Linked DNA regions of Homo sapiens: region 1 is linked to region 2. The links are contacts of gene promoters, found by promoter capture Hi-C in blood cells and fetal thymus (Javierre and others, 2016). All regions are on one chromosome and are shown on one strand. The core of a region is centred on a gene start or on the middle of the fragment in contact, and the rest is flanking DNA. Distances in the headings are between cores, read along the strand shown.

Region 1 (3,037 bases), core at 455-2,954, 2.2 Mb after region 2:
GCTGCCGTCTGGGGAAAAGACTCGAGCCAGGCCAAAGTCCGCTATCTTGAGCTGGCCTGAGGCGCTGATGAGCAGGTTGGCAGGTTTCAGGTCCTGGGAGTACCAAAAGAAGCATCAGTCCCTCCAAATCCCCCATAGGACCTTGGGACAAGCGGGCTTGGCAGTCTAACCACTCAGGTCAGCCCCGGTCCCCACCTCCTCCAGGGCCATGCCCTGGCCACTTACCTGGAGGCCTTGACCAGCTCTGTCCCAACTTCTTATCACACCTTTTACAAGGGCTAGCCCCATCCCCAAGCCAAGTCAGCTCCCCAGACCCCATGCCCGGCCTATGCTGAGACTGACCCGATGTACAATGTTGTTGGCATGGCAGAAGGCGACACCCTTGAGCAGCATCTGCAGGTAGCTCTTGACCTGTGCCTGGGCTAGTGGCCTCTGGGCATGGCGCACCACCTCGGCCAGATCCGACAGCATGAACTCAAAGGCCAGCACAAAGCCTCCACCGTGTGGGAACACAGCCTTCAGTTGTACCACCTGTGGGCAGGACATCTTGTTAGCCCCCAGACTCAAGTCACCAGACCCTCTCTGTGACCCTGAGACCCCAGCCCATGCCCTGACAGAGGACCCTGTATCCAAAAAGACAGTAAGCAAAGAAGGTGACGTGGACCTGAGCTAAGAATCAGAGAGCTCGATGCTCATGATTTGCTCTGCTCTCCTGAGATAAGGTGTGCCCCCACTCTAATTCTCCATGAACACTAAAAGGTCTAAAAAAGGTCATTTAGTGGCACCATCTGGTCCGCCCACCCAGCCTACCCGCCTGAAAATCATCTGGATGGTCACACATGAGATGGACAGGTCTCCTCCTGTTTCCTCTAGAACCACCGAATCCCAGCACCAAGGAAAGGACACCAGGAATCCCACCTTTCCCAGTGCTGGGACAGCTACAGACACATCACAAACACTGAGGCCAGTACTGTCAGAGGAGCCAGGCTACACAGAGAGTGAGCTGAGAGACAGGACTCTTAATGAACTCACAGCACAAAGGACAAACAGTTTAACAAATAAATGAATAAAAGGGATATATTCAGATTCTGTAAGTACAGGAACCAAAATACAAGGGGGCTGGGCATGACGTCTCATGCCCGTAATCCCAGTACTTTGAGAGGCCAAGGTGGGCGGATGGCTTGAACCCAGGTGTTTGAGACCAGCCTGGGCAACATGGTGAAACCTTGTCTCTACAAAAAATACAAAAAACTAGCCAGGCATGGTGACACGTGCCTGTAGTCCTAGCTACTTGGGAAGCTGAGGTGGGAGGATCACCTGAGCCCAGGAGGTTGAGACTACAGGGAGACAAAATCGCACTTCTACACTCCAGCCTGGGTGACAGAGTGAGACCCTGTATCAAAAAAAGAAAAAAAATCAACAGAACTAGAAGAGGATAGTGTGATTCTGTGAGTGGAGAAAAGGATACTTCTTTATTTAGGTGGGGTGGGGCTAGATGAGGACCCAGTTTGTGGGGATCTGGGATAAAGCTCTGAGCAGGAAGAAAAGCAAGTGCAAGGCCCTAACGCCAGCACAGAAGGAGGCTAGAGGGATGTGAGTACATGAGATTGTTTAAGGGAAGGATGTGTCTGCCTTGTTCTGTGCTCCTGGACCCTAGATAGGTGCTGGTCACTGGAGAGATGCCTAAGAAGTTGTGTTGAATGAGAGAAAAGGGAGAGGCCAGCTGGAGGTGGGCACATGGTGATAGTGCTCTAAGTGTGAAGAGAAGCCACCAGGGCTTTTTACGCAGGGGAGCCGATGACTTAACTTACACTTTTGACAAAGCCCTCCGGACTGTGGCTATGGAGAGCAGTGGGGAGGCTGCCACTGTCATTCTGATGAGTGGTGATGATGACTTGGGCAAGGAGCAAATCTAGAGTATGTTTTAAAGTTAGAACCTTCAGAATTGCTGACCAACTGGATGTAGGGACCATATCACCAGCTTCCTTATGGATCTCTCCACCTATCCCACACATGGCTGTCTGGAAGCCCTTTTATCTTCCTCAAAAAATCAAAATGGCCTGATTGCTGTTTTCGGATTTTTCAGGTAGTACACAACCATTTAACAGATCAAAACACATGCACACATTCAGGTAAGACATAAAATCCAACAGAAAAAGAACAAAAGAAAAATCCTACAGTCAATCTTAGAGTGTATTCTACCAGACTTTACAACAGATATGGCACACACAAATACACATTCACATATATAATATTTCCAAACAAAACCCAGATGACACAAAATTTTATAACATGCTTTTGTCATCCAATATATCATGCATATCTCCAGATCACAGAGACCCAACCCTGTTAACTCTCCAGGGAGTCAAATACATTCCCTATTTCGACATGGGTGAGAGAGAGCACCAAAAGAGTAATGACACTAGGGGTGAAAGATGCCCCTCTTCGTGTTCCAGCAGCCCCTCCCGGTACCCTATCACAGCACGAACCACACTAGGTGGGCCCTGTTGCCTCTGTCTCTTGTTAGCACACTTAAGTCCTCAGGAGCTGGGCTGGAGCTGGTTTCTCTGTGTCACCAGTGCCCAACACAGGGTAGAGCCTATGGGAGGTCCCAAGGGAAGAATGGACTCTCAATCAAACCTGGGCCAAACCCTCTACTGACTAACGGAGGGCCCAAGAGCTGGTGACATAACCTCCTCCTCTCACCTGAGAAACAGAGATCTGGAAACCTGCCTTGTACAGTAGTAAAGAGGTCTCAAAATGACAATGTATATAATGCCTGCAGAACACATCGGGAGCTCAATAGGTGCTAGTTACATTATAAATCACTACATGTTTTGAGAAAAAAAGTCGGTGAATGAATGAATACATTAAGAAATAAGTAGGCAAATGAGAGTGAATGTGTGAGAAATGAAAGAAATAGGTAAATAAAGGTGAACAAGTGGACAAAAAAGGGCAAAAGGGGGTAAGGAGGCAGATGAATGAGCAGTGTGTGTGAGTGACAGCGGGAGGAAATCCCTGAAAGCTGGTGAAGGCG
Region 2 (6,483 bases), core at 295-2,794:
GAGAAACAGTGGGTAAGGCACGACTTATTATTTCGCAGTAATTCTACATAGGAAATACAGATCTTTCAGAGTTTTGTTTGGTTTTGACATTTGGCACATGTTTTAAAATAAGCACCATTTAAAGTTCCTTAAATAAATCATTTCTTTTTTGGCCTACTGAACTAAAAACATTCCACAATACAATTACAAAAATAACTTTCCGGTTTTCTCAGACAACCAGTTTATAAGAATAATTCAGAAGTTCACAAAGGATAATTTGATTTACATAAAGCTTAAAAAACGGACATAAAAGGTAAGTGAAAATGACCGATTAAGAAGACTGTTAAGGTCCTTTCTAACTACAAATTGTCATGCATTGTAATTAAACACAACTACAATGTTAAACACCTGAAGGAAAAAACCCACATAGAATTAATACTGCCAAAGAAAATTTCCGCTATCTTCAGGCACTTGAGTAAGCTATGTTAAAACGGGAAATGGGCTTTAAATTATCAACATTCACATCGATTACACTATGATGCATGAAAACTCCATTCTACAATGAGTAAACGCCCAAGAAAGGAACCCAACCAACTCCAATTGCCCTGGTGCTCGTAAGAGGTTTATACCGCACAAGGGGTAAAACAACGGTAGAGTCGAGCAAGCCTTTGGGTTACAACAGTCCTTGAACACTTGCAATTGAGAACCCGCAATTCAGGAAGGAAGACACTAAGGAAACTCTGCACTGTCATCCAGGGTGATCTGATTCAGGTTCAAACCAAACGCTCAAGGCGACAAGTTGTAAACAGAAGACACACTTCAGCTCAAACCACCCAGCGAGAGGAAGCAAACGTGCCCATCGCCGATGTCACAGCAAATCCCACCTTGCTGGCGCTCAGTCGGGAACGCTAGAATTCTCGAAGCACAGGGGCCCGCGATTCAGCGGCCCGCTACCACTGGGGCGGGGGAGAGCGGGGCTGGGCGCGCCCGCCCCCGGCCCTGCAGCCCCTCGGCTGGACTCCCCGCGGCGCCGCGAGCTCGGGCCCGAGAGAAAGGGCTGAGCAGAAAGGGCGGCCTCCGCCCAGAGACCGCGCCCGATACCCTCCGCAAGGTCTGGGACGGGGATCCACCGAGGGTCCGGGGACTGGGGAAGGCGTTTTCCAGACCCAGTCAAAGCCCCACCCCGTCAGGGCTTTCCCTCAAGACCGAGTGCGTTCCCCTCACGCGTCACATGTGTAACATGCGTTACACAACCCGTCAGGTAAGGGGCGCAGGGATCCGGGGTCGCCCCTCCTACCCCCGGGCGCCGTCGCTCGCATCTCCCGCGGCCCGGGGAGAGCAGAGGGACGGCCGGCCGGGACATGAGGACTGCAGCAGGGCGCTCACCGGCTCAGGATGGGGCGCTGGCGGGGACCGCGCAGAGCCGCAGCACCCGGCTCAGCACCTGGATCACGGCGGATCCCTCGCCGCCCGCCGCCCGGTGTTTTCATACAAACCCCGGTGGCAGGCGAGGCGGAGGCGGCGGCGGCGGCAGCTGCGGCGGCGGCGCTGGAGGCGGCGGAACCTGTCCGCATCCCGGGCAACGTCAGCGCGGCGCCCCGCCCACCGCACGCCTTGCCAGCCGGCTCCCAGCACGCGCAGGGAGTGGGGGCGGGGCGTGCGAGGCCGCGAAAGGGGCGGGGCGGAGCGCACGCCCTCTTCCCGCCGCGTCCCTTGTTACCTCCGTGCGCGCTGCGCCCCGCCTCTCTGCGCGCCTGACGGGAGGGAGCGCGCGCGTGGGGGCGGAGCGCGCACGGGAGCGGGAATTAGGGGCGGGTGTTCCGCGCGCTGCCGGTCCCTTGTACCCAGCAGCCCCGGCCACCGCCCCTCCGTACCGAACTGCGAGCGACTCCCCACGTTCTTCAAGTCATCTTTCTGTACACTCCCAACGAGGGCCCCAGCCTTTTCCCGGAACTAAGCCCGCGCCCACCCCCTCCCCCGCCATCAATCAGTCACTTTCTTAGGAAGGGTTCTTAAAGCTCCCCACGTGATCCCGGGGTCGCATCAAACGCTGGGGACTGCGGTAAAGCTTAGACCTTTCCTGACCTCAAGGAGGGTCCATAATAAGAGGCTGGAAGGGACATGCTGTTACTACAATCGGGCTCCCAGAAAACAACAGGATTGCACCTTGTGGCCAAATCTCAGTAAATTAGATGCCTAGTGCTGCAGCGAACAAAATAGCATGCTGATTTACTGTTTTTTGAAAAAGTGCCTGCATATAATCAAAACGGTAATGCTAAGTTGGCTACTGAAGGCAAAGGCGGAATGTTTTATCTGAGCCAAAGTAATGTGTCAGAGAAATTACTAATACACCCCCTTCTGTTTTGACTGTACTTCAGTGTACTGCAATGTATTGCAAATAAATACTGACATCATTTACTTTTTCACGTTGCACAAGAACATGTTTGCTACTGTTTATGGTAAGGAATGTAATATCACAACTAGATAAGGGAATGCATTGAGAACTGTGAGATTTTTGTTTTGTTTTATGATCTTGTTCAAATAAAATTAAGCAGGTGTGAAAGCAATTCAAAAAGTAACCCAAGGTACACCACAGTGCTTCTTACAGTTTGCCCTTGGTAGATGTCTTTATTCAGATGAACAAGAAACTGCCATTTTATAAACATCGTAGTTTCCCTCATCGTGAGCACTAAAAGATAGGTTACGGTATTTAAAATAATTTTGAAACAACCACCACCCCAAACCACCCAATCAGAAACGTATTATCTGAAAATACCCAATAATAATGTAATAATTTTACAATAATGCTAAATATGTATGTAATATACCTGAAACTTTTCTTAAAGAACATGTTTCTAAATGAGTCAACCTGCAATATAGGAAGATATTATGTGGATGTGTGTGTTTGTGGAATTTGAATCCCACTTTCACAAGCACTGTTAGCATAGTTTGATGACCACAACACAGACCCAGGAGATTAACCCACACAAGATAAATAGCAGCATTACATAGCTTTGAAATGATTCCAATCACATAGTTTGCCACAAGAGTGAGTGATTTATGTTTTGCGGTAATTAAGAACTTAGAGCTACTCCCCCACCCCCTGGGAATGTGACATCACTCTTCATCAGATCCCACGTGTATGAAGTTGAAATAAACTTCACCTCTCCTAGCTAATGTGACGTTACACCTTATCAAACACCATATATATGTTACTGACCTCAACTACAGGATTTCGAAATACATATAAACTCAAGAATTTGCAAGATACTTTGAGAGCTCAGCGGGTGGCAGATCGCGTGCTCTGTCAGCCACTTCCCTGAACGCTACCAGCTCAGGCTGCAACAGGGCCACACCCTGTTAGCCTTTAAGCTTTGAAGCCTGTCCACCAACACTGGCACAGCCCTCTAGCATCGTGGGACCTTGCATATCCTCACCGATCTCCTGTATGTTGGACACCATCTCTCCCGAGAACCTCAGCCTCCAAAAGGTAAAGGTACACCTCAGTTGTTTTTCTTTTTCTTTTTCTTTTTCTTTCTTTTTTTTTTTTTTTTGAGACAAGACTCTCACTCTGTTGCCAAGGCTGTAATACAGTAGTGCAATCATGGCTCACTGCAGCCTTGACCTCCCAGGCTTAATGAATCGTACTACCTCAGCCTCCCACTGAGTATCTGGGACTACAGGCACACGTCACCACACCTGGCTAATTTTTTTAATTGTTTTTGTAGAGTCGGGGTCTCCCTAAGTCACCCAGGCTGGTCTCAAACTCCTGGGCTCAGCAGTCCTCCTGCCTTAGCCTCCCAAAATGCTGAGATTACAGGCATTAATACCACACCCACCTCAATCCTTAATCAGACTTTACTTTCCACAGAGGTCTGCTTCAATCTTAATTGAACAACTAGGTTTTAATAGTTTTGGAACTCACTCACTATGTAGTTAATAAACATCATCTATGGAGTGTATTCCCTGTGAAATTATTCTCTTAATTCTCTGCCTCTATACATTGTGAACCTAAGAAAATAAATTATCTTCACATGGCAATAAACCATGTTGATCCAGGATTGTTTCCTCCTTAGCTCAGCTAGATCCAGGTTCTTGTCTCAAGACCAGGAAAAATCAGGTACACGGACACTTGAAGAGTGAGTGAAGTAGAATTTGTTAAGCAAAAGGAAAGCTCTCAGCAAAGAGAAGGATCCTGAAAGCAGGTTCCCAGTTGCCCGCTTCACAGTTGAATGCAGGGGCTTTTACATGCAAGCTGATGGGGCCAGGTTCCCTATTTGTGTAAGGCGCAAATTCCTGGTGGCTCCACCCCATTCCCCCAGTGTGCACGCGGGCCCTTAGTCCACTGTAGGCATGTTTAGGCAAGACCCCTGTGTAAGTTCCCTTATCTGTACGAAACATGGGTGGGAGCTTCTCTGGGGACCCTTTGCTTACTATCTGCCTAAAGCAAGCTGGCTGACGCCTTTCAATGTGATTCATGAAATCATACTTTTATCTCTCTACTTTGAACCATACAAAACACAGAGCTAATTTCTATTGGTCACTCTTTCCACAGCTTCTTCAATAAACCTTATTATGATATATAAAACTAAATGTGAATGGCTGATATAGATCAGAGTTGGACTATATAATGGAATTCATTTAACTTGGATTCCTCTATTCAGTCCAGCCTTGTAGGTACTCAGTAAATGTTTTCCTGTTTCATTTTTGGACTAGTCATGGGGAGAGAGAGGTGAACATTGGAGCCCAGCTATCTCTTTCTCCTCTTCTGCGGATCACCTTATCTCCATGCTTTTAATAAGGTAACGTACAAAATGCAACACACTGTATTACAAAACTCTATAGTCATAAGGCTTAGAACAGCCATGGACCTCTCAAAAAGTCTACAGCAATTTCCATCTAGAACATAAATGTTAGGAGAGCATGATTGATCATGAGGTTTCTGAAACATAGCTGGTCCTCTGGAGTTAGAGGATTGATTGTTATAACTATTCAACAATCAACCATTTATTGAGCACCTCTTATGTACCAGACAGTCCTCTTGAGATCTTCTGAGGAATTAAGCAAATGATAATGCTCAACAAAATACCTAACCACTGCCTTGTGTCAAACTAAAAGGTTTACCACAAATAGACCACAGAACAGAATGTAGTACAAACGACCAGAGCTGAATCTAAATGAATGCGGCAAAACTGGGAAATGGAGGGAAGCAATCTGGGATTTCACACATTGAATGGTTCTGATGCAAAATCTTTTACAGTGGCAAATGGTTTCCATGGTAAACTGTGAATGATATATAATTCGGGGTCAGAAAAATTGAACTTAAAGGCCAGGTGTGGTGGCTCATGCCTGTAATCCCAGCATTTTGGGAGGCCAAAGCAGGAGGATCAATTGGTGATATAGGAGTTAAGAAGAAATCACTTAGGCAGACAGTGAGAGTATGGCAGCCTTTGGTAAGGCTTTTCTCTTTAATGAAAAGCAGCCCCAAATCATTTTCTAACAAAGAGCAGCCTGTAAGCTCGAGCTCCAGACATAGACAAGCAATCTGGGAGCTTGCACTGGTGAATGCCAGCAGAAACTCGGGGCTAGACATGTTCAGGATGGCAGCTCCACTTCCCTTCTCTTTGTCAGCCACGTTTACAGTAAGAAGCAGACAACATGGTGCAGATCAACAGGAAAGCCCATTTGCAGAATAAGATTAGGGTGGGGCGACCAGCCTTCCTTTTCCCCCTGCCCCCACACAGTATATAGACGTCATACCTGATGGAACCAATCTGTGAGCCCCATATAAATCAGACACCGCCTTCTCCAACCTGCTGCCTATAAAATCTGCTGCGATCCACTGCCTCACCCCCTCTGTGGACATCTCTCTTTCCCAAAAAGCTGCCTCTCTCCTTTCTTCTAACTATCAACTTTCCACTACTTAACCCACCCACATGTGTCTGTGTCCTAAATTCTTTCTTGGCACACAAAACAAACCACAGGGTATATACCCCAGACAGCATAGGCATATCATTGGAGCCAGGAGTTCAAGACCAGCCTGGACAACATAGTGAGACCCCCCACATCTCTACAAAAATTAAAATTAAAATTACCTGAGCGTGGTGGTGCATGCCTGTAGTCCTAGCTACTTGGGAGGCTGAGGCAGGAGGATAGCTTGAGCCCAGGAGTTCAAGGCTACAGTAAACCGTAATCACACCACTGCACACCAGACTGGGCAACAGAGCAAGATTCTGCCTCTAACAAAAAGAAAGAGTGGGGGGAGAGAGAGAGAGAAGCAAAATTGAGTAGAGACTTAGTGTACAGCATGATGACTATTGTATACTGGAAATTTGCTAAGAGAGTGGATTTCAGGTACTCTTACCACAAAAAAAAAACCAAAATGCTAACTATGTGAAGAGATAAATATGTTAGCTTGACTATAGTAATCATTTCACTATGTATATCAAAACATCATGTTGTATACCTTACATATGTACAATTTTGTTTTTTTTGAGACAGGGT

What was found. The method cuts DNA at HindIII sites, captures the fragments that hold promoters and counts their contacts. A CHiCAGO score of 5 or more calls a contact.
Region 1: a contact is called between a fragment that was not itself captured here and the fragment with the promoter of AGTPBP1 in region 2, in 3 of 17 cell types (naive CD8 T cells, activated CD4 T cells and fetal thymus). The highest score is 6.4, in naive CD8 T cells.

What each region holds. Positions count from the first base shown.
Region 1 is chr9:87,970,805-87,973,841 of GRCh38, forward strand. CDK20 (cyclin dependent kinase 20) reads right to left here. Exons shown (of 8, transcript NM_001039803.3): 3 at 343-531; 4 at 1-93. Among named protein-coding and RNA genes, the nearest start is that of CDK20, 2.2 kb to the right of the region's middle. The HindIII fragment of the contact is 4,347 bases long and covers 1-3,037 here.
Region 2 is chr9:85,740,410-85,746,892 of GRCh38, forward strand. It overlaps AGTPBP1 (ATP/GTP binding carboxypeptidase 1), which reads right to left and starts at 1,545. Exons shown (of 26, transcript NM_001330701.2): 1 at 1,366-1,545. RefSeq lists an enhancer at 559-708 and silencers at 879-1,198, 1,269-1,868. The HindIII fragment of the contact is 1,776 bases long and covers 270-2,045 here.